Linked DNA regions of Homo sapiens: all the other regions are linked to region 3. The links are contacts of gene promoters, found by promoter capture Hi-C in human tissues and cell types (Jung and others, 2019). All regions are on one chromosome and are shown on one strand. The core of a region is centred on a gene start or on the middle of the fragment in contact, and the rest is flanking DNA. Distances in the headings are between cores, read along the strand shown.

Region 1 (2,700 bases), core at 85-2,584, 430 kb after region 3:
ACTTCAAACCACAAAGGATTTCCTAAAAGCAGTGACCAAAATATTTCCTTTAACATTAGTCTACTCATTCAGGGAAACCCAGTTTTGATTAAAATTGGGGCAACCAAGCAAGGAGTTAAAAAAAATACTCTAAGTTGGCTATATCTGTTGGAGGTTTAAGTTTTTAAAATTTTTCCTAGCAAACCAAGTACACACTTTAATAGCTATATGGCCATTTGAACTTCAAGGAGAAATTAATAAAACCAGTTATTCAGTCAGTCAGTATATATGCAAATGGCAATATTCTAAAGCAGAGATCCATTGTCAAAGGTGTCATTTTGTCATCCTTATCACTTCATTTCCTTTTAGGACTCATTCTGTTCCACACTTTCAATATCTGAAGTTCCTTATTAAGGTGAGTATCACCACCACTATCTCCGACCCCCATCCTCCATCACCCCCATCCCCACAGTCTCTCTCTCTCATATTCATTCAGAACATATTTGGTCAGCACCTACACCGCAGGCATTGTGCTTGGATAGGGTATAAAAATAAGACAGTTCACTATTCTTGAGGAGGTCACTGTGGCAGTGGGACAAGAGACACCAATAAATACCTGCAATCTGAATAAAGTATTGATACAGTAGGCGGAGTAAAATGGGAAGAGTCAGGAAAGATGCAGAGAAATGGCACTGGAGGAGGAGCCTCAAGTGAGGCGCTACAGAGATTGTCTCCAAAAACCTGAGAAACTTCCCCTGAAGTAGAAAACAGGGGATAAGAATACCAAGTCCAAGTAGTCCAGTCTTAGACCACTCTAGTCACTCACACTTTTAACTTTTGTTTTTAAATGCTCTGTGTTGAAACAGCATAATGTTCTATCTACTACAATCAAGAGGGCCTATGTGATGTTTAAGTTACTCTGATGAAAAAAAATCTTTGTGTCCAATATTAATTTTTCATTAAGGAAATTAAAGATGTTTCAAAGTCTAGATTTAAGAAGCATGTGGTTTATGAAGACATTTTAATAATGGGAAATGTTCATGTCTTGGTATTAAGAGGAGAAAAATTAGGGTAAAAAACATTCTACATTAACTTTAGAAAAATACTAATACACATGTCCCAGATGCCCCATGAGAGTATTTGTTGCAATATTATTTATAAAAGCCAACAGCCAAATTCAACCCTGTCAATGGGATAGGGTTGGATAAAGGGGAGTACATCCATCTACCTGAGTCCTATACAGCCAAGGGTAATGAAGTAGATCCATGTGTATCAACTTGTATACATCTAAAGCTGAGTTTTGTTTTTTTTTTTTAAGTTGCAGGATGTTATATTTACAGGCTGAGGTTATTTAAATAAACTAAAACAAACAACTACCAATTCTCCATGGTAACAAGTATAGGAAAACTGTACTGAACCAACATATACCAAATTTGCAAAAGTAATTGTTTCAGTTAGGGCACAGGGCCAGGGTCATGATAGGAAAAGGGAACAGAAGAGGAAACAGTGGTTAAAAATGACTTTATCTGGCCAGGCACGGTGGCTCATGCATGTAATCCCAGCACTTTGGGAGGCCAAGGTGGGTGGATCACCTGAGGTCAGGAGTTCAAGACCAGCCTGGCCAACATGGTGAAACCCTGTCTCTAGTAAAAAGAAATAAAAAATTAGCTGAGTGTGGTGGCGTGTGCCTGTAGTCCCAGCTACTCGGGAGACCGAGGTAGAGAATCACTTGAACCCAGGAGGCGGAGCTTGCAGTGAGCCAAGATCACGCCACTGCACTCCAGCCTGGGTGACGGAGTGAGACTGTCTTTAAAAAAAAAAAAAGACTTTAACACTATTAATATATTCCTTTTAAAAAGGGACAATGTGCTTCTATATTATTTGCTCTGTTTAAAACATATGCACATAAATAAGAAACTGAAAGTAAGTACAAATGTTAACAGTGTAGAATTCTTAGTGGTGGTAGTATTTTCTCCGCTGCACTTTTCAAATCTCATCACCACCTCACCACACCTGAACCAGAACTAGGATCACAGCAATGGGAAAAGGCTAGAAGAAAACAGGTGTGGATGGTTGTCATGTTTGCAAGATTCTCCCATTATTTCTACTTGCACTTTTGGCTCTCTGACATTTCTACAATGTGTAATTTTAATAGTTGAGCTTAAAAAAACTCCGAAATAAAAAGTTATCATAGTATCAGCTGGCCACAGTGGCTCTCGCCCGTAATCCCAACACTTTGGGATGCTAAGACGGACGGATTACTTGATGTCAGGAGTTTGAGACCAGCCTGGCCAACATGGTGAAACCCCATCTGTAACGAAAATACAAAAATTAGCCGGGCATGTGGCGCCCACCTGTAGTCCCAGCTACTCAGGAGGCTGAGGCAGGAGAATTGCTTGAACCTGGGAGGTGGCTGCAGTGAGCCGAGATCATGCCACTGCACTCCAGCCTGGAAGCCAGAGCTAGACTCCGTTTCCAAAAAAAGTTATACATAGTATCAAACATTCTAAAATAGACTGAATTACACAAGCATTAACTAGTGCTGAACTATTTTAAGAAAAAGCCAGTAAAACCAACCATTTTATTTGAAATCTCGTATCTTAACACTCTTGTTCAAATAATACAAATTCATTACCCTCCCCCTAAAATCAGAGGAACCTCAGGTTATAAGGTACGTGGTCCTCAAGATCAGTTATATATAGGAGTATGCTGCTATCACTA
Region 2 (2,700 bases), core at 114-2,613, 380 kb after region 3:
CCACCTCAGCCTCCCAAGTCGCTGGAACTACAGGTGTGCACCACCATGACTGACTAATTATTGTGGTTTTGATTTGCATTTCTGTAATGACTAATGATATTGAGGATGTTTTCATATGCTTATTGGCCATTTGTATATCTTCTTTGGAGAAATGTCTCTTCAGATATTTTGCCCATTTAAAAAATTATGTTATCTTTTATTGTTGAGTTGTACTAGTTGTTTGTATTTTCTGGATACTAGGCCCCTATTTTAGGTATGTGATTTACAAGTATTCTCTCCCATTCTCTGGGTCGTCTTTTCACCTTTTTGATACTGTCCTTAAAGAACAATAGTTTTTAATTTTGATGAAGTTCCAAATTATCTATTTCTTCTGTGGTTGCTTATGCTTTTGGTGTCATATTTAAGAACCCATTACCTAATCCAACAAAGATTTACAACTATGTTTTCTTGTAAAAGTTCTACAGTTTATAGTGTTAGCTTTTGCATTTAGGTCTCTGATTCACTTTTGGTTAATTTTTGTATACAATGTGAGATAGGGATCCAACTTCATTTGTTTGCATATGTATAGCCAGTTGTCCCAGCACTATGTGTTACTTTTTTCAAAAAAAAAAAATTGAGAAAGGCTCTCACTCTGTTACCCAGGCTGGAGTGCAGCAGCATGATCGTGGCTCGCTGCAGCCTTGACCTCCCGGGCTCAAGTGATGTTCCCACCTCAGCCTCCTGAGTAGCTGGGTCTACAGGCATGCGCCACCATGCTCGGCTACTTTTTTATTTATTTTATTTATTTATTTTTATTTTTATTTTTTGAGACAGAGACTCATTCTGTCACCCAGGCTGGAGTGCAGTGGTGCGATCTCCAACAGATGTCTTCCAACAGATGAAGAAGGAATATCTTATTAATATTTATTTAGGTCTTTACATTATTTCAATGATGTTTTACAGTTTCAATGTCATATTTTGCTTTTTTTGTTACATTTATTCCTAAGTATTTTATTATTTTTCATGTTACTGAAAATGGAATTGAGCTAGACAAAGCAGCTCACACCTGTAATCCCAGCACTTTGGGAGGCTGAGGCAGAAGGATCAGTTGAGCCCAGGAGTTTGAGATTACAGTGAGCTATGACCATGAACCGCACTCCAGCCTGAGTGACAGAAAGAAACCCTGTCTCTACGAAAAAGAAAAACAAAAGAGAAAATAGAATTGTTTCCTTAATTTTATTTTTGGTTTGGTCATTTCTAAGATGTAGAAATAAGACAATTGATTTTTGTATATTGATCTTGTATCCTGCAACTTTGCTAAACTTCTTCATTCTAACAGAACTTTTTTTTTTTTTTGAGACAGTCTTGCTCTGTTGCCCAGGCTGGAGTGCAGTGGCTCAATCTCGGCTCACTGCAGCCTCTGAACCCTGAACCCTGGTTCCCATGTTCCTCCTGCCTCAGCCTCCTGGGTAGCTGGGATTACAGCTGACCTCCTGACCTCAGGTGATCCACCCAACTCGGCCTCCCAAAGTGCTGGGACTACAGGTGTGAGCCACTCCGTCAGCCCATTCGAACAGATTTTTAATCAGTCTATTCCTTAGGACTTTTTATATACAAGACTGTGATCTGCAAATAGAGACAATTTTATTTATTCCTTTCCAATTTGAATGCTTTTTATTTAATTATCTTGCTTAACCTCCCTGGCTAGAACCTCTAGCACAATGTTAGATAGAAGTGATAAGAGCAGCCAGGTGCGGTGGCTCACGCTTGTAATCCCAGCACTTTAGGAGGCTGAGGCGGGTGGATCACCTGAGGTCAGGAGTTTGAGACCAGCCTGGCCAACATGGTGAAACCCCGTCTCTGCTAAAAATATGAAAAATTAGCTGGGTGTGCTGGCAGGCACCTGTGATCCCAGCTACTAGGGAGCCTGAGGCAGAAGAATCACTTGAACCCGGGAGGCAGAGGTTGCAGTGAGCTGAGATCAAGCCATTGCATTCCATCCTGGGCAATAAGAGCAAAACTCTGTCTCAAAAAAAAATAATAAATAAATAAAGGAAGCAGTAAGAGCAGACATCCTTGTCTCATTCCTGATGTAGGGGAAAGATTTCAGTCTTTCACCAGTAAGCATTATGCTAGTTGTGAGTTCTTTTTTACAGGTTGAGAAATTTTCCTTCTATTCCTAGTTTGTCAGGTGTTTTTATCATTAAAGGGTGTTGAACTCTGTCAAATGCTTTTGCTGCATCTATTGAGATGATTATGTGGGTTTTGTCCTTTATTCTAGTAATACAATGTATTACATTAATTGATTTTCACATGTTAAGCCAACCTTGCATTCCTGCGATAAATCCTGCTTGGTCACGGTGTATAATACATTTCACACGTTAGTGGTTTTGGTTTGCCAGTATCTCACTGAGGATTCTTCCATCTATATTCATAGGAGATATTGGTCTGTGGTTCTCTTTTCCTATGATATCTTTGTCTGATTTTGGTATTACAATACTATTAGCCTCATAAAATGAGTTGAAAAGTGCTCCTTTCTCTTCTATCTTTTGGTAAGAGTGTCAAAATTTGGCATTATTTCCTTTTTAAATTTTGGGTAGAGTTCACCAGTGAAACTGGTTTGGCCTGAGCTTTTCTTTGTGGACAGTTTTCAAACTACTAAGTCAAGCTTTTTGTTATAGGTCTATCCAGATATTTTATTTCTTCTTGAGTTGTTAGTTT
Region 3 (2,700 bases), core at 190-2,689:
TATGAACTGGCAAAGGGAAAAGTGAGAGAGAGAGAGAGATGTTAAGAAAGGGACAGGGTTGTCCCTAAGGTATGGGAAGGTGGAGTAATTCCTCTAGGCCCTTTGCTTTGGGTATATCGTGGAAAATGTTAGGATTTTGGATCTAGGCAGAACTGGTTTGACACCAACACAACCTGAATGAGTTGAGGGCTAAAAGGAAAGCTTTGTGGAGGAGGAGGAGGTGACAACTAACTAGAATCTTTATGAGAGAAAAGGAATCAACCAGGAGAACAGAAGACAGTCTCCTCCAGAGAACAGCATAGGCAAGACCCTGAGACAAGATAGAATATGATACCTTGGAAACCGCAGGGAGGAATCTGCAAGTGCCGGTTTCTTCATCAGTAACATTGGATTCGTAAAAACACCCTGTCGGGGAGAGGTATGATGTGATATTTGGAAAGCGCTTACTGCAGTGCCTGGCACCAAGCTCAGTTCAACAATCCCCCAGACCCTTCCTAAAGCAACCAGGCTGGGGACAGCGATTTGGTCCCACCTGTTCCCCTGAGCCTACGTCTTTGGGGCTTCTATTACCAAGCCAGACTGTCTAAATATTTACTACAAGCTACTTTTTAAATTCAGGAGAGGGCAGATCAAACAGCCTCTTTTGCCCCCAGTAACAATGAGCCCTTAGGAAGCATCTAAGAGAGAGGAAGGAAAGAAAGGACTGGCGAGCAGGTGAGGGTGGGGGCTTGCTCTACCCTCAACATTTACACACCATGAGGAAGAGGCCCCCTACAGCAGAGAAGGGCAGATGACAGGAGCAGCCCTCGAGGGCACCACCAATTTCAGTGATGGAAAAACTCCCCCATCCCACCCTTAGACCTCCAGTCTCCCAGCCAAGCCCTAGCTCCGGGCGAGATGCGTTCTCTTCAGAAAAACGCTGAGAATTCTCAGCTTCCAGAGACAGCGAGTCCCTCGTTTCGGGCGATGTCCCTGGCCACCTGGCGGTGCCATCCCTCCCCTGAGACTAAGCGGGATATGGGACGTGTGCAGGAGCCGGGATATGGGGGGCCGGGTCGGTGGTAACAGGGAAACGGAGACTGCTGTGGAGCAGTAGGCGGAGACTAGAGCTCCGGAAAAGGTCGCTACAGGGACGGGGGTGAGAGCTGAGAGACACCGAGTGAGGAGCACAGAGATAACCCGCCTGATCTCAAGGCCCAGCTTTCGCGAGGTGTGGAGCCTGTAGCTAACCTAGGAGTCTCCGTCCGCCAGCAATGCCGCAGGACTAAAAAGATCCCCTCAAAAATCTCTTCATTGAGCCCCCACCTCCTCGAGTCCCGCTCCGGCCGGTCGAGCAGCCAATCGCCTCGCGGGGCGGGGTTGCGGCGAGCTGCCGTAACCAATAGAGGTGGAGGGGGCGGGGCCTGGCTCCCGGCGCGCGGCGGTAGGGTCGCCTCCGGCAAAGCGAGCTGAACCCTGAGGGGAGCCGCTGACCAGCAGCATGGAGGACCCCGCCGCGCCTGGGACCGGGGGCCCGCCCGCAAATGGCAATGGCAACGGCGGCGGCAAAGGGAAGCAGGCGGCGCCCAAGGGCCGCGAAGCGTTCCGAAGCCAGCGGCGGGAGTCAGAGGTGAGGAGCCCGGAAAGCTTCGGCTGGGGCCCGGAGACGCCCGCCGGCGGGAAGCGGCGGCTGAGGTGATTCGGCCTCGGCCCCGGAGCCCTCGGCGCGCTCGATCAGCCCCGCGCAGTGGGCGCCTGCGGGGTCCTAGCGGCTGAACTCTGGGCTCTTTGGCCCGGACCAGTGTCCGCCCGTCTCCTGCCGCGGGTTGGGGGCTTTCTAGCCCTCTGGCTTTCCCCCGCTGCGCGAAGATGAGCGCGGTATTGAGCGGACCAGATACTTTCCAAATATTTATCTCACTTAATCGCTGCAGCCCCCTGAAGCAGAAATTCCGATCCCAGTTTATAGACGGGGGAACAGGAGCGGAGAGGTTAAGTGACTGGCTTGAGGGGTGGGAGGCTGGAGCTCAGCCGCAGGAAAGCAGGATTGGCGAGTGGGGCAACCGCAGTCCCCCTCCCAGGCTGCCTGCGGCGGGCCCCTGGGCCAGCCGAGGGACTTCTGCCCGTTCCCTGCCCGTCCCCTTCCCCCCGTAAGTCTTAGGCCGTTTCGGGAGCGCCTTCCGCGGACATCAGGCCCCTGCCTGTGAGGGCTGAGCGAGACGGGATTCAGGCAGGGGCAGTCCTGGAGTGGCTATCTGGAGGGAGCAGTCGCAGGATACAGATAGGAGTGTGAATATTTCGATCTCTTCCTCCTCTCCTGAAAAAAGAAACCCTATCTATGAAGATGAAAGCGTTGAATTATTATCACTTCCCTATCCCCTCATTGAGGCAGTTCCCATCAGTTGGATCTGAGCGGGGATCAGAATAGACGACAAAATATCAGATGTGGCAGGGTCTGCAGATATCATCTGGTATAACCCTTTCATTTTACAGACCTAAAAAAAAGAGGAGTGACTTGCCCAAGATCAGACATCTGGCATAGTTGGTGGTCAAGAACACCAGACTTTGGAGTAGTCAGACCAGGTTTTGACTCCTAGCCCTATCATTTACTACCTGTGTGATTTTCGGCACATTACGGAACCTCTCTGAGCTCCAGTTTCTTCATCTGTAAGATGAGATTAACACTGCCTACCTCAGAAGGTTGTGATAAAGTCAAAATGAGAT

The links. Contacts are between HindIII fragments. The study calls those that stand out against the background at their distance.
Region 1: a fragment that was not itself captured here is called in contact with the fragment with the promoter of STRIP2 in region 3 in 1 of the 25 tissues and cell types used here (mesendoderm cells).
Region 2: a contact is called between a fragment that was not itself captured here and the fragment with the promoter of STRIP2 in region 3, in 1 of the 25 tissues and cell types used here (lymphoblastoid cells).

What each region holds. Positions count from the first base shown.
Region 1 is chr7:129,859,433-129,862,132 of GRCh38, forward strand. All of the region lies in intron 3 of UBE2H (ubiquitin conjugating enzyme E2 H), which reads right to left. Among named protein-coding and RNA genes, the nearest start is that of MIR183, 86 kb to the left of the region's middle. The HindIII fragment of the contact is 3,660 bases long and covers 1-2,700 here.
Region 2 is chr7:129,814,648-129,817,347 of GRCh38, forward strand. No RefSeq gene overlaps it. Among named protein-coding and RNA genes, the nearest start is that of MIR183, 41 kb to the left of the region's middle. The HindIII fragment of the contact is 5,374 bases long and covers 1-2,700 here.
Region 3 is chr7:129,432,993-129,435,692 of GRCh38, forward strand. It overlaps STRIP2 (striatin interacting protein 2), which reads left to right and starts at 1,440. Exons shown (of 21, transcript NM_020704.3): 1 at 1,440-1,609. The coding sequence starts at 1,481. RefSeq lists a silencer at 1,320-1,799. The HindIII fragment of the contact is 3,182 bases long and covers 1-2,538 here.